Regions from separate parts of the Homo sapiens genome. Here region 2 is linked to region 1. The links are contacts of gene promoters, found by promoter capture Hi-C in blood cells and fetal thymus (Javierre and others, 2016). All regions are on one chromosome and are shown on one strand. Each heading gives the region's core, a stretch centred on a gene start or on the middle of the fragment in contact. The rest is flanking DNA. Distances are from core to core; before and after follow the strand shown.

Region 1 (3,954 bases), core at 318-2,817:
GGTGGATGACCTTGGAGAGGTCACACACTTCTAGTTCTGTAAAATGGGGAGTTATATTGCCTAAATCATATAATTTTTATGTTAAGTGACACATTCTCTAAGGCACTAAGTTTGAGGACATACTTTGTAAATGAAATGATATATGGAAATGTTTGTATATGTTAATGGTTTTGTTGTTGCTATTATTATTATGACTACTATACACATGGTCTGGAGAAAGCCAACCTCCCCAAAGCGGAGATTCTCCAGTAGAGAACAGGCCCTCTAGGTTGCATATCAATAGGGAGCATGTTTAAGGAATGTTAGCCGGTAGTCTTTGCTAGGTGTGAGGGGTGAAATTTTTCTTTATCAAGGCTCAACTGTTTTCGAAGTCTTCAGGCTTGAAGTTCTGGAGAAAACAACTAGGCTCTCCGGGCGAGATCCCGAATACCAGTTTAAGGGATTTGAAATGCAAGGCCGTCTGGGACTCCACTGCCACGGATGGGCACCAGGCGGCGCCGGTCGGATCCGTCCCGGGACTAGCAGGGCTTTGGGCAGCAACCCGCAGGGAGCCCGACCGCCTCTGGCCAGGTCCGGGCAGCTGGTGGGGGAGGTTCCAGAGGTCCACGCCATTCGTGGACGCAGTCTCTAGTGTCCTCTCCGCGTCCCACTTCACTGCCCCATCCCCTTTCCTGCGAGAGCCTGGACTTGGAAGGCACCTGGGAGGGTGTAAGCGCCTTGGTGTGTGCCCATCTGGGTCCCCAGAAGAGCGGCGGGAACTGCGGCCGCCCGGACGGTGCGGCCAGACTCCAGTGTGGAAGGGGAGGCAGCTGTTCTCCCAGGCGGCCGTGGGGGGCAGCAGAGGGGACGGCGACAGGTGCGGGAGCCCCTCCCGGGGTAGAAGTGGAAAGGCGGGCTCCGGGGTCTGTTCCCAGGCTGGAAACCACCCCCGCCCCCCATCCAAATCCCCGGGAGAGGCCCGGCCGGCGCCGGGTCTGGAGGAGGAAGCGGCCAGAGACAGTGCAATTTCACGCGGTCTCTGTGGCTCGGGTTCCTGGGCTGGGTGGATGAATTATGGGGTTTCGAGTCTGGGAGAAACTGAGGTGGCCTGGACGTGAGGCAAAAAACACCCTCCCCCTCAAAAACACACAGAGAGAAATATTCACATTCTGAGAGAAAATCCACCAAGTGAACCAACCGGCTAGGGGAGTTGAGTGATTTGGTTAATGGGCGAGGCCAACTTTCAGGGGGCAGGGCTTTGGAGAGCTTTCCACTCCCTCATTCATTACCCTTCCCTGGATCTGGGGGCTTTCGGAATCTCGACCTCCCCTTGGCCTATCTCCTGCAGAAAAATTAGGGTGAGCCCCATCCTCGATCTGCTCCGCCAAGTTGCGGGACCGCGGGGCGTGGCACGCTCGGGGCAGGCGGTCCGAGGCTCCGCAATCCCTACTCCAGCCTCGCGCGGGAGGGGGCGCGGCCGTGACTCACCCCCTTCCCTCTGCGTTCCTCCCTCCCTCTCTCTCTCTCTCTCACACACACACACCCCTCCCCTGCCATCCCTCCCCGGACTCCGGCTCCGGCTCCGATTGCAATTTGCAACCTCCGCTGCCGTCGCCGCAGCAGCCACCAATTCGCCAGCGGTTCAGGTGGCTCTTGCCTCGATGTCCTAGCCTAGGGGCCCCCGGGCCGGACTTGGCTGGGCTCCCTTCACCCTCTGCGGAGTCATGAGGGCGAACGACGCTCTGCAGGTGCTGGGCTTGCTTTTCAGCCTGGCCCGGGGCTCCGAGGTGGGCAACTCTCAGGCAGGTAAGTGGCGCGAGAGCACCGGCGGGCTCGGCACCTGGGAGCCGGAACCCAGTGCGCGCAGCCTCGGAGGGTATGGGCACGGTCTCAGGCGGCGCGGGGTTGTGGGTGCTGCCCCCGGTTTGCCAGGACCACCTGGGAGAGGGGCGGTCAGGCTCGGGTTATCGGCGTGGTCCGGCCGAGGGCGGCATTCCGGGACCCTCACGCCACCCTTCTCCAGAGCGTCGCCGACCCTCTAATTGGTCTCCCCAGAAGAGGCTGAGGCCGAAACAGTAGTTCACACTTCTGAGGGGCCCTGCAGGGAGGGGAGCAGGGAACTTCATTCTGTAAACAGGAGGTGCTTGGAGGTGGGGGCCTTGGCGGGAAGGGTCTCGGTTTGCTCGCCAACCCCCTGCCCCCCACCCGCGCCGATTTCAGCTACCCCTAGTTTCGTTGTTTTGCCGACAGGGCGGAGCTACAGAAGGTTGGAGGGGGTTGTTGTTCTCTGGTGTTGGAAAAACAGGAGCGGCACCTCCTCTTCCGTGAGTGAGCCTGCCCTGGGGAGGTCTGAGATTAACCAGAGGGCCAAGTTCAGGTGACATCAGGCAGGAGGCCCAACAGAGGCTGGCGCCCCCTTTCCTCAGTATAGCAGAGCTTAAGCAACATCTCTTTGTCAAGACCCAGGTCAACACAACTCATATTTATTGAGCATCTACTATACACAAGGCCCTGGGCCAGGAGCTGTAAGGGCAAGGATGTCCAGCCTCTGGTCTTTTCTCTCCCCAACCTGAGGATCAAGAGGGCACCTCTGCTACTTTCTAAGCCTCCTGCCTTGGGGAGTCCTTCCTGGGCTCAGCTTGTGCCTCCCGCCCCCATTTTGCTTATTGTCTGACACTGTCTCTAGGACCCTAGACAGAGCCCCGGATTGCTCTTCTCCAGTCCTCCCCCGACTCCCATGCTATCTGAGCCCACCCCTTTGGGGTGTCTCTGGGACCGTGGACACCTGAGGACTGAAGTTCTGTGGATCTCCTCCCCTCCCCTCAGATCTCAGCTTGGGGTTTGGCACAGCCAGGGCCCCTTCCCCAGTGTGGGAGTGGAAGAAACCACCTGTGCTTCCCTCACAGTTGCTGGGCCTAAATTTAGATCCTGGGATTTTTAGATGTGAACACTCCCAGCTGGTGGAGGGGGGTGGTCTGGGGACTGGCGTGGGAGGGAGCAGTGGAGTGACTGTATAACTGTCCCATCCAGACTCCTGCAATCTTCACCCAGAAACCCAGGAGTACCAGAGTCTGGCCACCCTCCCTGGGGAGGCAGGAGGCAGGCATGGTTGGGTCTCTTTACCCTTTATCTGGGTCCTGCAGCCTCTGGGCATCCGGCCCTGTCTCAGTCCTTCTATAGCCCCTTTGTCCTGGCTGTGATGGGGGTGGGGGATGTTGGAGGGGAGGCCTCTGGTTGAGGAGGGGCTGGAGATTCTGGCTCTATCCCACCCCTAGTGCTCTCTACCAAAGGAGGGCCTGTGACACTGCCCCTCCCTATGCTCCCGGTTCCTGGGTACAGCAGGGATTTTTATGATTCCCTTCCCCTGCCCTGCTCCCCAAGCTGCCTAGCTCCTCCCCAGAGGTGTTGTTTGTGCTCCCTTCCTGCCCAGGCCCTTTGCCCCCTGTTTGTGTAATATGGACTTTACCCTCAGGGTAGCAGGGAACTGGGCTACCTCTAACACTGTAGCCTTCCAAGCACAGACACAAAGTCTGCACAAACACTTATGGGCACGTGGGATAGATGGGGCCACCTGAAATACTTCCTGCAAGGAAACCCAACTATAGATTCCTGAGCCAGCAGGACCAATGTGTACGTGTTCGTGTGTACATTGTGTGTGTATGTGTGTGCCCACACTACTACTTCCCTGTGCAGAAAGCTTGGCTCCTCCCTTATCTGGGGAGAAGTGTTGGCACTATAACTTGGGAAAGGGGGTATCCTGCCAGGAAGGGGATTGGGGTGGGGCTGTTCCAGAAATGACTAACCTTCCTAGTCTCTTTCATTTCAACCCAAGGACCCTGGAGTTCCCAGCTCCTCTGGAACTAGCTCTCTTTGCTGGGACTAGCCAACCTTCATGGGGAGTGATAAGGAGCCCTCCAAGGTCAAGAAGTCAGACTAGGGGTGTATGTTATAGGAGGGATTGGGGCCTCACCAGTC
Region 2 (3,728 bases), core at 748-3,247, 380 kb after region 1:
CAGCCTGGGCAACAAGAGCGAAACTCAGTCTCAAAAATAAAATAAAATAAAATAAAATAATAGTAATTGTCAAGGTTCTAGTTTTTCTATTGGATGGATGGTTAGAAATGATGCTTAATTATCATTATTAAAAACAAATAAGTGGGAGCCATATATATAGGCCAATGAGGAGAGGATATCATGAACAACAAAATATTCTGTGTACCCCAAATTAATTAAAAACAGCAGTGACAACAATATATGCTTTACCACTTTCTAGTTGGGCAAGTTATCCCCGCTATATATAGGTTCCAGGAGGGCAGGGCCCATGTCTGATTTTTCACCAGTGCGAACCTGGTGCTTAACACACAGAAGGCAGTAAATAAATATTTGCCGAATAGATTAGATTAGCATAAGCTTGCTTGCTTTTTTTTTTTTTTTTTTGAGACAGAGTCTCTCACTCTGGAGTGCAGTGGTGCCATCTCAGCTCACTGCAACCTCCACCTCCTGGGTTCAAGCCTCCCAAATAGCTGGCATTACAGGTGCACGCCACCACACCTGTCTAATTTTTGTATTTTTAGTAGAGACAGGGTTTCACCACGTTGGCCAGGCTGATCTCGAACTCCTGGCCTCAAGTGATCCGCCTGCCGAGGCTTCCCAAAGTGCTGGGATTACAAGCCTGAGTCACTGCACCTGGCCAGATTAGCATAAGCTTTCTGAGTCTCAGTTTCCTCTGTATCAAATAAGATAATGTAGGTAAAGAGACTAGTACAGTGTCTGGCACAGAATAAAGCACTTAAAAACAGGAGCTACCTGCACCTGTAGTCCCAGCAAATCAGGAGGCTGAGGTAGGAGGATCGTTTGAGCTCAGGAGTCAGAGAGCAGCGTGGGCAATATGGCAAAACCCCTCCTGTACAAAAAATACAAAAATTAGCCAGGCACAATGGCACACACCTGTAGTCCCAGCTACTGGGGAGGCTGAGGTGGGAGGATGACTTGAGCCTGGGAGGTAGAGGTTGCAGTGGACTGAGATGGCACCACTGCACTCCAGCCTTGGTGACAGAGTCAGGCCCTGTCTCAAAAAAAATTGAAAATTTGGCTGGGTGCGGTGGCTTACACCTGTAATCCCAGCACTTTGGGAAGCTGAGGTGGGCGGATCATCTGAGGTTGGGAATTCAAGACCAGCCTAGCCAACATGGCAAAACCCCATCTCTACTAAAAATACACAAAAAAATTAGCCAGGCGTCATGGTGTTCACCTGTCATCCCAGCTACTTGGGAGGCTGAGGCAAGAGAATCACTTGAACCCAGGAAGTGGAGGCTGTGGTGAGCTGAGATCACACCACTGCACTCCAGCCTGGGAGACAGAGTGAGACTCCGTCTCAAAAAAAAAAATTATAATTAAAAAATTTAAAAAGTAAACAGAAGCCACTCAATGGGGTTTTATTAACAGGAATGGGTTATCTCTACCCACTAATCCTGTAGCCTCTTATAATAAGAGATGGAACAGCAAAGGGCAGTTAATTCAATCTCTTATAGACGACAAATAAAATGGCTAGCTTTCCTTATCTGCAGCTACCATCCTCTTGCCTCTATTCTTCATCAAACATTGACAAGAATTCCATGGAGAACTAAACCTCGGCCCATTTCCTTTGACATCAGTCTCCCCACTTAGATAAATGCCAGCCTCTTTCAAACCTAACTAGAGATGAACTCTTAAAAGCTTACTTGAGTTTTTGCATAGATTTACATACAATTAGTATGCTTATTGTTTTCTACTAGCCTAGCCTTTTATTTTTATTTTTTTTACAGACATAGTCTCACTGTGTTGCCCAGGCTGGAGTGCAGTGGCGCTATCAAAGGTCATTGCAGTCTTAAACTTCTGGGCTCATGCAATCCTCCCACCTAAGCCCCCTGAGTAGCTGAGACTACAGGCACGTGCCACTGCACCCAGCTTATTTAAAAATTTTTTGTAGAGATGAGGTGTTACTGCGTTGCCCAGGCTGGTCTCAAACTCCTGGCTTCAAGCCAACCTACCGATTCTACCACCTCAGCCTCCCAAAGTGCTGGGATTACAAGCATAACCATAGAACCTGGCCTTTTTTTTTTTTTTTTTTTTTTTTTTTTTTGAGACGGGGTCTTGCTCTGTCTCAAAAAAGGTGAGACTCCAGGCTGGGGTGTAGTGACGCAATCTCCCAGGCTCAAACAATCCTCCCACCACCTCAGCCTCCCAAATAGCTGGGACTACAGGCATGCACCATCACACCTAGCTAATGTTTGTATTTTTTGTAGAGATGGGGTTTTGCCGTGTGACCCAAGCTTATCTTGAACTCTTGGGCTCAAGCAATCTGCCTGCCTTGGCCTCCCAAAGTGCTGGGATTACAGGCGTGAGGCACCTCACCCAGCCTTAGCCTAGCCTTTTTAACAAAAAAACAACAAAAAACAAATACAATCCAGGCGCAGTGGCTCACGCCTGTAATACCAGCCCTTGGGAGGCCGAGGCGAGCGGATCACGAGGTCAGGAGATCGAGACCATCCTGGCTAACACGGTGAAACCCCGTCTCTACTAAAAATACAAAAAATTAGCCGGGCGTGGTGGCAGGCGCCTGTAGTCCCAGCTCCTCGGTAGGCTGAGGCAGGAGAATGGCGTGAACCAGGGAGGCGGAGCTTGCAGTGAGCCGAGATTGCACCACTGCACTCTAGCTTGGGCGACAGAGCAAGACTTCATCTCAAAACAAAAAACAAAAAACAAAAAAAGGCTGTGTCTCCCTTCAGAAGTGGGATGCACCTGTGGTCCCAGTTACTTGGAAGGCTGAGGCGGTGAGCTGTGATGGTGCCACTGCACTCCAGCCTGGGCAACAGAGTGAAACCCTGTCTCAAAACAACACCATAAAATAACCAGGCCTTAGCGTGGTTCACTGAGCCTGTGGAGGTTGAGGCTGCAGTGGGCCATGATTGCACTACTGCACTCCAGCCTGGACCACAGAGTGAGACTCTGTCTTAAAAAACAAAACAAAATAAAAACAAAAACAAAAGAAAAGAAATCTGCCAAGGAAGGTGACTTTGGAGAATTGCCTAGGAATAAGGGGATTTCTGGGGTCTAACCCTCCCGGGTGATGCCAGGACACACTCCAGTTCATCTTCCTCTTTTTTTCTTGTTCACTTGTTCCCCCCTTTGCTATTATTCTACTTCATTCTTGTATTTGGGGTTCTTTTCAGGGGTTGCAAAATGTTTTTAGCTATAGATTCTCCACCTTTCTTTTCTTCTGGCATTAAGTAAGTATACAAATGTTTTTGAAGTTTTTTCCAACAGGGACTATGAAAATGGAGAAAGGATTTGTAAAATAACAAATTTGAGTAATTACAAAGTTATTATAAATCTTAATGGCTCCTAGCAGTAATCACCCTGAATTCTCATTTGTCTCTATACTTAACTGAGTTAGCTCTTGATTACTAATGATCAGTCTTTCAAACTTTAGGACAGTGACAGTGATCCTAGCTTACTCCCCACTTCAATAAGGAAGGCTCCATTGCTTAGTCCCAGAGAGTGCTATACAACCATAATCCATAGTAATAGAGAGCAAGTGGGTCTATATAGCTTAGGAAATCTGCAGGCAGAGCTATTTTTCTTGCTGTGTTCCTCCACAGTGGGTCCCATGTGATTACCATAGTCACCTCTAAGGATGTCCAGGACTGACTCACCATCTTACTGCAGCTACTCCCTAGCCAGCTCATATTATCAGGACCTGA

Evidence for each region. The method cuts DNA at HindIII sites, captures the fragments that hold promoters and counts their contacts. A CHiCAGO score of 5 or more calls a contact.
Region 2: a fragment that was not itself captured here is called in contact with the fragment with the promoter of ERBB3 in region 1 in 1 of 17 cell types (naive CD8 T cells); the score reaches 5.2 in naive CD8 T cells.

What each region holds. Positions count from the first base shown.
Region 1 is chr12:56,078,598-56,082,551 of GRCh38, forward strand. It overlaps ERBB3 (erb-b2 receptor tyrosine kinase 3), which reads left to right and starts at 1,568. Exons shown (of 28, transcript NM_001982.4): 1 at 1,568-1,785. The coding sequence starts at 1,704. RefSeq lists an enhancer at 1,225-2,215. The HindIII fragment of the contact is 9,077 bases long and covers 1-3,674 here.
Region 2 is chr12:56,457,686-56,461,413 of GRCh38, forward strand. No RefSeq gene overlaps it. Among named protein-coding and RNA genes, the nearest start is that of MIP, 4.9 kb to the left of the region's middle. The HindIII fragment of the contact is 596 bases long and covers 1,700-2,295 here.